Linked DNA regions of Homo sapiens: region 2 is linked to region 1. Evidence: promoter capture Hi-C in 16 types of primary human blood cells and fetal thymus (Javierre and others, 2016). All regions are on one chromosome and are shown on one strand. The core of a region is centred on a gene start or on the middle of the fragment in contact, and the rest is flanking DNA. Distances in the headings are between cores, read along the strand shown.

The links. Contacts are between HindIII fragments. The CHiCAGO score rates a contact against its expected background, and 5 or more counts as called.
Region 2: the fragment with the promoter of RNF2 here is called in contact with the fragment with the promoter of CEP350 in region 1 in 1 of 17 cell types (activated CD4 T cells); the score reaches 7.3 in activated CD4 T cells.

The regions. Positions count from the first base shown.
Region 1 is chr1:179,952,481-179,956,137 of GRCh38, reverse strand. It overlaps CEP350 (centrosomal protein 350), which reads right to left and starts at 1,328. Exons shown (of 38, transcript NM_014810.5): 1 at 996-1,328. RefSeq lists a silencer at 894-1,343 and an enhancer at 1,131-1,632. The HindIII fragment of the contact is 10,111 bases long and covers 1-2,950 here.
Region 2 is chr1:185,043,405-185,047,215 of GRCh38, reverse strand. It overlaps RNF2 (ring finger protein 2), which reads right to left and starts at 1,658. Exons shown (of 7, transcript NM_007212.4): 1 at 1,567-1,658. RefSeq lists a silencer at 1,769-2,028. The HindIII fragment of the contact is 4,610 bases long and covers 1-2,994 here.

The sequences.
Region 1 (3,657 bases), core at 79-2,578:
TCACAATTCCATGTCATTAGCAGTGCATTTCCTTGTTTAAAAACAATATATTAAACGAAGAAATTTTCAGAATGGAGGGCAACTTTTAGTATTTTATCATTGTTTCTACAGAACTTTTCAGATTGTTACTAGCTCTGCCAAAGATAGTCTTTCTTTTAAAACTCTTCAAATACAGGGCAGGAGGTATCGTTAACATGGCAACAATAACGACTTCCCCAAATTCAAAACAAGGATCACCATCAAAACAAAACAATCAGGTGGAGTACATGGATATTGATCACTATTTCTGACAACCTGTTTTTTCCCATATGAAGGATTTGCTACTGCATTAAAACATTAAAATCTATGCCTATGTGCAACTTTCTATCTGAATATTTAAAATCCAGGCAAATTCCAATTCATATCTTGTGACATTAGCTAAATATTACTTAGCATGTTGAGCTGCATTTAAAAGGCAGAGGAAAATACTGACAACTTCCAAAACATAAAGCCTTTTAAATCTTTCCCCAAATTATCTGTGAATAAACTACCTTCAGCAGCCGCTAGACTAGAGTAGATCAAAGTTTTCCCTATACTTGAGAATGTGATCCCCACTGAAAAGGAACAGAAACTGATCATCCCTGCCACTGGAGCCAGTCCCCGGAATCTCCCCAAATACGCCTGATCGCCAGATGAAGAAGGGACACTTCTCCGGGCAGCAAAGGCTAGAGGTATCTTACCTCTGCAGGCTAGAGGAGGGGTGGAGGAGGCGGGAGGACACTGGCACGTAAGGAAGGAAATTCCGTCTTCAGCAGGCACTGGTGGGACCCGAAACCTAGGTCCCCGAAAAGCCTCAGAACCCAGGGAGGTTCCCCGAGGGGGACGCCAAGCAGGGCCAAGACTCTCCGCGCCCGGCCCCGCCTCTCTTGCCGCCACCGGGGACCCGGGACCGCGGACAGAGACAGTTGAGGCTGAGCGAGACTCCGCGGTCCCAGCCAGGTCCTACAGGAGCTCACCTGAGAGTGTCGCCTCCGCCCTCGGCTACCACGGTGCATCCCGCGGAGCCTGGCGGAGGGTGCAGTGACGCCGCCCCGACCGGCCCCAGGGCTGCCCGGCCTGGCCTCCCCGCTCCGGGGACGCACCGGGTGCCCTCCTCGCACCGGCTCCGGGGATCCGCCGGTCCGCTGGGAAGGAAGACAAGGCGGAAAGGCTGCCTCCCCTCCCTCAGGGCAAGCCACCCCCCGAGCTGCGGCTCCCTGCAGTTCTCTCTGGCGCAGGTCTGGCCCCGCTCCCCGGCCCGGGAGTCACTTCGTCAGGGGCGGCCCAGTCGCCATTACAGCCCAACAACTGACACGGAGGAGGAGCGGCGCCAGCGGCAGCGGCTGTGGCGGCGGCGCGAGGCAGGGCGGGAGCAGTCGGGCCCAGGCAAACCTCGCGAGAACTGTCCCGAGACAGTGCCACAGGCATGCCAACCTTCGGTTAGGGCCATGTTGAGTGTGGCCGAAAGGTGGGAGCGAAATAAAACAAGGAGCAGAACCGCGAAGAAGCCATGTTTGGTGCGTCGAAGTTTAAACTCGTAGGACTTGGGAGGAGCCAAGGTATATCCGCAGAAGAGACCACCCCTGCCCTTTCGCTTTGACGCTCATTGGGCCTTTTGGCTGCGCATTTCACCCCGGGCTGAGAAAACAAGCTGGGGATTCGACAAGAATGAACTCAAAGTCTGGAAACGGCAGCTTCTGAGAGTTTACAATGTTTCACCAACTGTCGTCCAAATAAGTCGTCACCCCTGTCAGAGTAGTTGCAGCTCTGCCGTTACCCACTGCTGTCACTGTGGCCGTTTTATTCGCGAGGGTTACAGTTCTGTTTAGCATGCATCTAATGACTTAAGACTCCACGCAAGTAAAACGGAGTTTCCTCCCATTAAGTATTGGCTTTGCTTTAACAGTGCTTTGAGAGGCTCTCTGTGGCCAACATATCTTCTCATATCTTTGTCCTCGTTTCCCAATCTCCGCGTGGTGAAATCATCTATCAAGACTTGGCTTAAAGGACCTCTCTTCTGCAAATAATGCCATCTTCCGCTAGGTGCTCACTGCACACAGACTCGCCGCCCACCACTTCTGTCCACCTTCTGAACTCCGATAGTTATTTACCCAGAGACTGTTTCTCATCTTTAAGTGTCGTGAAGACTTTAAGATCTGTTTTATCTCTCTATACCCCAAAATGGCCTAGCACAGTAACTAGGACATTGTAGGTGCTCAATAAATGTTTGTCGAATATCAATGACAGCAGGAGGCAGTAAATGGTCCCTCTTTGTAGGGCCTACAGCTGTGCCTGAGTAGGATGTACAGAAGTCCTGCATACGTGTGAAGTGTCTCCAGGAAGCTGCACTGGAGGGGACAGGAAATGTGGGTAATCGTATGGTGCAAGTGGTAGCAAAAAAGACAACATAAGGAAAATGTTATTTAGGTTTTGCCCAGTCTTGCTGTTTAAAGCCCTGTGTTAGATGCTTTTCATGCGCTATTTTACTGAATGTAAACAACCACCTTATTAAATATACTCACTTTTTTAAAACGAAGAAACACGTACTGGCCGGTCACAGTGGCTCACGCCTGTAATCTCAGCACTTTGCGGGGCCGAGGCGGGTGGATCACGAGGTCAGGAGTACAAGACCAGCCTGGCCAAGATGGTGAAACCCCGTCTCTACTAAAAATACAAAAATTAGCCGGGCGTGGTGGCGGGTGCCTGTAATCCCAGCTACTCGGGAGGCGGAGGCAGGAGTATCGCTTGAACCTGCGAGGCGGAGGTTGCAGTGAGCCGGGATCGCACCACTGCACTCCAGCCTGGGCAACAGAGTGAGACTCCATCTCAAAAAAATAAAAAAAAAGAAAGAAAGAAAGAAAAAGAAACAAGTACTGAAAAAGCTAAGTAATTTGCCCAATTTTATACCATCAATAAAAGGGAGCTGTAAGCTTTGGGATCTGCTTTGCCCCAAAGCCTGTTTATACTTTTTCAGCCCCATGCTATCCCCTTGACAACAGAGAAGACACCAAAGTTCTGTCACTGTGCTCAGAGCAGGGTTACCCTGGTATCAGCCTATGCACAATTTCTACTTCTTATACCTTGTGTTGGTCTGTCTTCTCCTCGCCTCCTAAATTCCCCAAGCACATCAATGTCTTTCTTTTCTAATATCCCGTTACTCTTGTGTTTACCCTACAGATTGGCCCTGAATCTATCAAGTTTTGTACTAGTTGCATATAGTTTCATGAGAGTAATTAATCTCTGGAACAAGATTGGAGGTTTACTGTGGAAAGGTTTGTGGCCCTTCCCAGACGTCTCCGCAGTGTTAGGCCGGTAATAGGTATTCAATATGGCTCCCTTGTTTCTCCTACTTTTTAGTAGACACTAAGATTGCATTTTTCTTTATATTCTTTGTTGATTACTGTGGCCTTGACTCTCACCACTCTTTGGATAACTGGATCTTGGCCCTAGACTAAATCTCCAATTACCCGTTACCCATCTTCACATAGATACAGAAGTCACCAGCACCTTCAGCTCCCATATTAAGGTTATCATTTTTCCTCCCTCAGTCTCACAAAGCCAGCTCCTCCTCGTTTCCTCTGTATTTCTGTTCATGGCCGTCACAGAACACTCTTCTGAGAACTAAGAGAACCAAAGTTT
Region 2 (3,811 bases), core at 409-2,908, 5.1 Mb before region 1:
GCCTCTACTATAATTAACCTCAAATGTGGATGCCACAAGGATACCTGAGGAAAATAACTACAATCCTTACAAAAAGTGAGGGACCATATTTGCTGTGCTACCCCTAGAAAAAGGAGTCACCTATAACTACCTATTATTTTGCTAAAAAGTAGTTTAAGAGTACAATCAAGATTTTTAAAGATACTTGTTGATTGTGAAAAGTAGAAATTTCAGGGGAAAAAGGGAATAACCAAGAGTCATATTGCTGCTATTTAAATACTTTATAAATCCAAGGATCAAATTTCACTATAAGAAGCAAACTCTCACACCCACCTCAGTTATTAGAATATTCAACAACTGCACTTAATACAAAACAGATAGATTAGCTACCAATTAGACTAAGTATTCCAGCTGATCATCTTGGAATTACCAAAAGTAGATTATGTAATGCAAATCGCTCGTACATTCGTTTTAAACATATCCTCGGTTTAGAACACTGAAACCATGCCTTAATTTTTTTAATTGAAAAACAGCGTATTACTAAAATACTGAGTGCATATGTATATCCTTTTCACGGCACTTCAAAGAAACCTGACATCTTCAAATCATTTTACAATGTAAAGTTACATTCTCTAAAACTTCCGACAGCCTCGAAAAAGATACCCAAAGGGGCTTCAAATAGATGAGTCTATAATTGATCTTAGCGGGCAAATAACTGGAATGAACCTCAAAGTTTGAGATCAATTTTTACTAACACCATCTCTGAAAGCAAGAAGGAGACTTCTGTAGAAGGTAAACGATTCTGACCAGCAGGACGTGGGCTCCCGGCAAAAGTGGGTACTAGCATCTCAGCGTAAACGACACGGTTCAAAACGCGAATCTTCCCGCAGAAACTAACCAAGACACCCCCTCCCCCCACGACTCCTCCTGGGTAAGCTCACGGTTTTAGAAAGCAGCAACAGATACTCCAGAGCAGGAGGCGGCACTCCAGGAATGTGTGAAGCTGAAGGGGTCTCCCCGAGGAACCCCGAGGTCGAGGAGCTCCTCTACACTGGAACCCCGACTCCGACCCCCCAGAAGGAAGGAGCGATATCTGCACAAAGTGCCCCCTACCCCACCCCCACGATGCAGACACACATCCCTAGCTGCGAGGCGAAAGCCCAGAGAAAAAACTCGCATTCCACTCCGTCCGCCTCCGGAGTAGGGCTGCAGAGAGGCTGGGGCCCCCGCCCCCGGAGGCGAGGGGACCGCGCCGCAGCGCCGGCCTCCGCGCAGAGGAAAGGGCAGCGAAAGGCTCGCGGCGAAGGAAGGAATCCCGGCGCTTCGCTGACTGGGTCCTCCGCAAACCAGCTCCCTTCCCTCCCACGACCCTCGAAGACACGGGAACAATGAGAACCCGCTTCACCCGCCGTCTCCGCCGCGAGAGCGGCCGGGGGCGGCGGCGGCGCCATGTCCCTTCACACCCCCGCGGACACACACCCCCCCCACACTCCGGGGCCCCCGTCAGTCGCCTGCAACGCTGCCGAGTAGACGCGTGTCCCGGCCCGCTGCTTCCGCGTCCTTCGCCTCCCCGCCCGCCCCACTCACCGGCTCCTGCCCCAGCCCAGGGCTCCGCTGGCCGCGGCCGGAGCAAGACTCTGGTATCAGCTGCCGCGGACGCCGGCGCCGCCGCACAATATGGCGAGCCTCAGCTTCCGCAATGGAGCTCGGGAAATACAACAGGGGCCGCTCAATATTCATGAGAGACTGAGGGGAAGCCGGCTCGGCCGGCGCTGCGGGGAGGGCGGGAAGGAGCGAGCGAGCGAGGGGCGGAGGCGCGGGACGAGGACGTGCACGGCGCGGGGAGGCCCGCGGCGCGAGGGAGGGTGCGCCGCCGCGTGTTGGCCTGGAGAACCCGCGCCACCGCCCCGCCCTGGGCTGGCCGGCCACGCCCCCCCGGCGCCCACCGCGGTCCGACGTAGCCCCCGGGCAACGCCCGGATGACGGCGCAGCCACCTCGTGCTCAACCTTCTGCTTGGGTTCTTCTGCCCTGGCTTCGGCCCACCCTTTACACCTTCCTGGCCGGCTTCTGGGGTTTGGGCTCAGACTTCTTTCTCATGAGTTCGTCCTCTTAAACCTGTCCCACCCGGCGGAAATCCTCATCAGGCTTTGGTTTGCAGAACTTCACATGAACTTCGGCACCCTTCCGCTCTCGTACAACAAACATACACTTTTCATCCTTGCAGGATAAAACTGCAAGTGTAATTGCTCCTGGGAAAATGACCTTCCACTCTAAACTTAGCTTAACATTCTGATTGTGGTCATCAGCTCTTACTATTTACCTTGCTGCTGCTTTATTCCTACCTCCTTGGCCCCTTCCAGTGTTACCTTCTGAACTTGAGGATTTACGAAGTAATAGATTAATAGATGTAATCATTACCTAAAACACAGCCAGTTAGTCTCCAGTAAATTATCCGACATTTAATGCATATAAATTATGAGCTGAAGAAGTAACGAAGAATTGAAAGTTCCCTGATCTCTATATGTACTATTGTTGAGATGTCATGTTCTCTTGAGAAGATAACCAGCAATACCAGACCGTAAATCTGAAGGCATAGAGGCATAAACCAATGGACTGCAGTGGGAATTGGGCAAACTAGGTTCATAGCCTCCAATGTGTGTCTATGTGACTTACGTAGATTGCGTAGCTCCTCTGCACTTCATTTTCTTCGTCTGCGAGATGAGAGAATTGTATTGAATCCTAGGTCCTTTCCAGTTCTTTAACGCTCTGAAACTCTCTATAAGCAATTCCAAATAAATGACATGAATTTACATAGGAATTTGGAAAAGAAAAATATCAATTCCAGCTGGTGTGTTTGGGGATGATTTCCTGAGGAGCCGGGATTTAAGATGGCCTTTGACGCCTTGGATGGGTGGAAAGAAAAAGGACAGGTGTTAAATACAGCACATTATATATGCTACCTAACAATCCATCAAAGAAAACAAGCATTATTCTTTTTCAGTGGCTTGAAAGCTTTTGCCTACTATCTATAACTTTAAATAACAAGTGACAGTTATCTGACTCTACAAGCCCTTCAAGGTTAAACTCTTCCTCCAATGTGGGGGGAGAAAAAAAGGCTGGGTGTGGTAGCTCACGCCTGTAATCTCAGCACTTTGGGAGCCCAAGGCCACCGGATCACTTGAGATCAGGAGTTCGAGATCAGCCTGGCCAATATGGTGAAACTGTCTTTACTAAAAATACAAAAAAAAGTTAGCCAGGTGTCGTGGCACGCGCCTGCAGTCCCAGCTACTCGGGAGGCTGAGGCAGGAGAATCGCTTGAACCTGGGAAGCAGAGGTTGCAGTGAGCCGAGATCGCGCCATGACACTCCAGCCTGGGTGTCTCGGCGAGACTGCGTCTCAAAACAAAACAAAACAACAACAACAACAAAATCAAAATAATCAGGGAAGCTCTGCTTCTCCCTTCTTGTGAAAGTCCACTTTCTAGAAACAGTGCAGTTGCAGAAGCATCTCCCTTCTTCCTTCATGACGAGTGCATGTGTAGTTCAATTAAAGGAAGACAGGTGTTCATAATTTAGAACTTTTGCTCTAATTAAAATGCCTTTGAAAATCATGATGTGTGGTTAGATTAAGCAATTCAATTGATGTTGAGAAAAGTGATGATTTGTAGAAAGCGCAGGAACTTTATGGATGAAAGTTAAATATAGTGCTTAAAAAAGACTCACAGGAGAATTAGTGGAAAAACGGAAAACTTATGGGATATCTGGATTAAATGTGATTAAAAAGCTAGACCTCAGGCTAACATCCTTAATATGAAAAACACTACTGACAAAT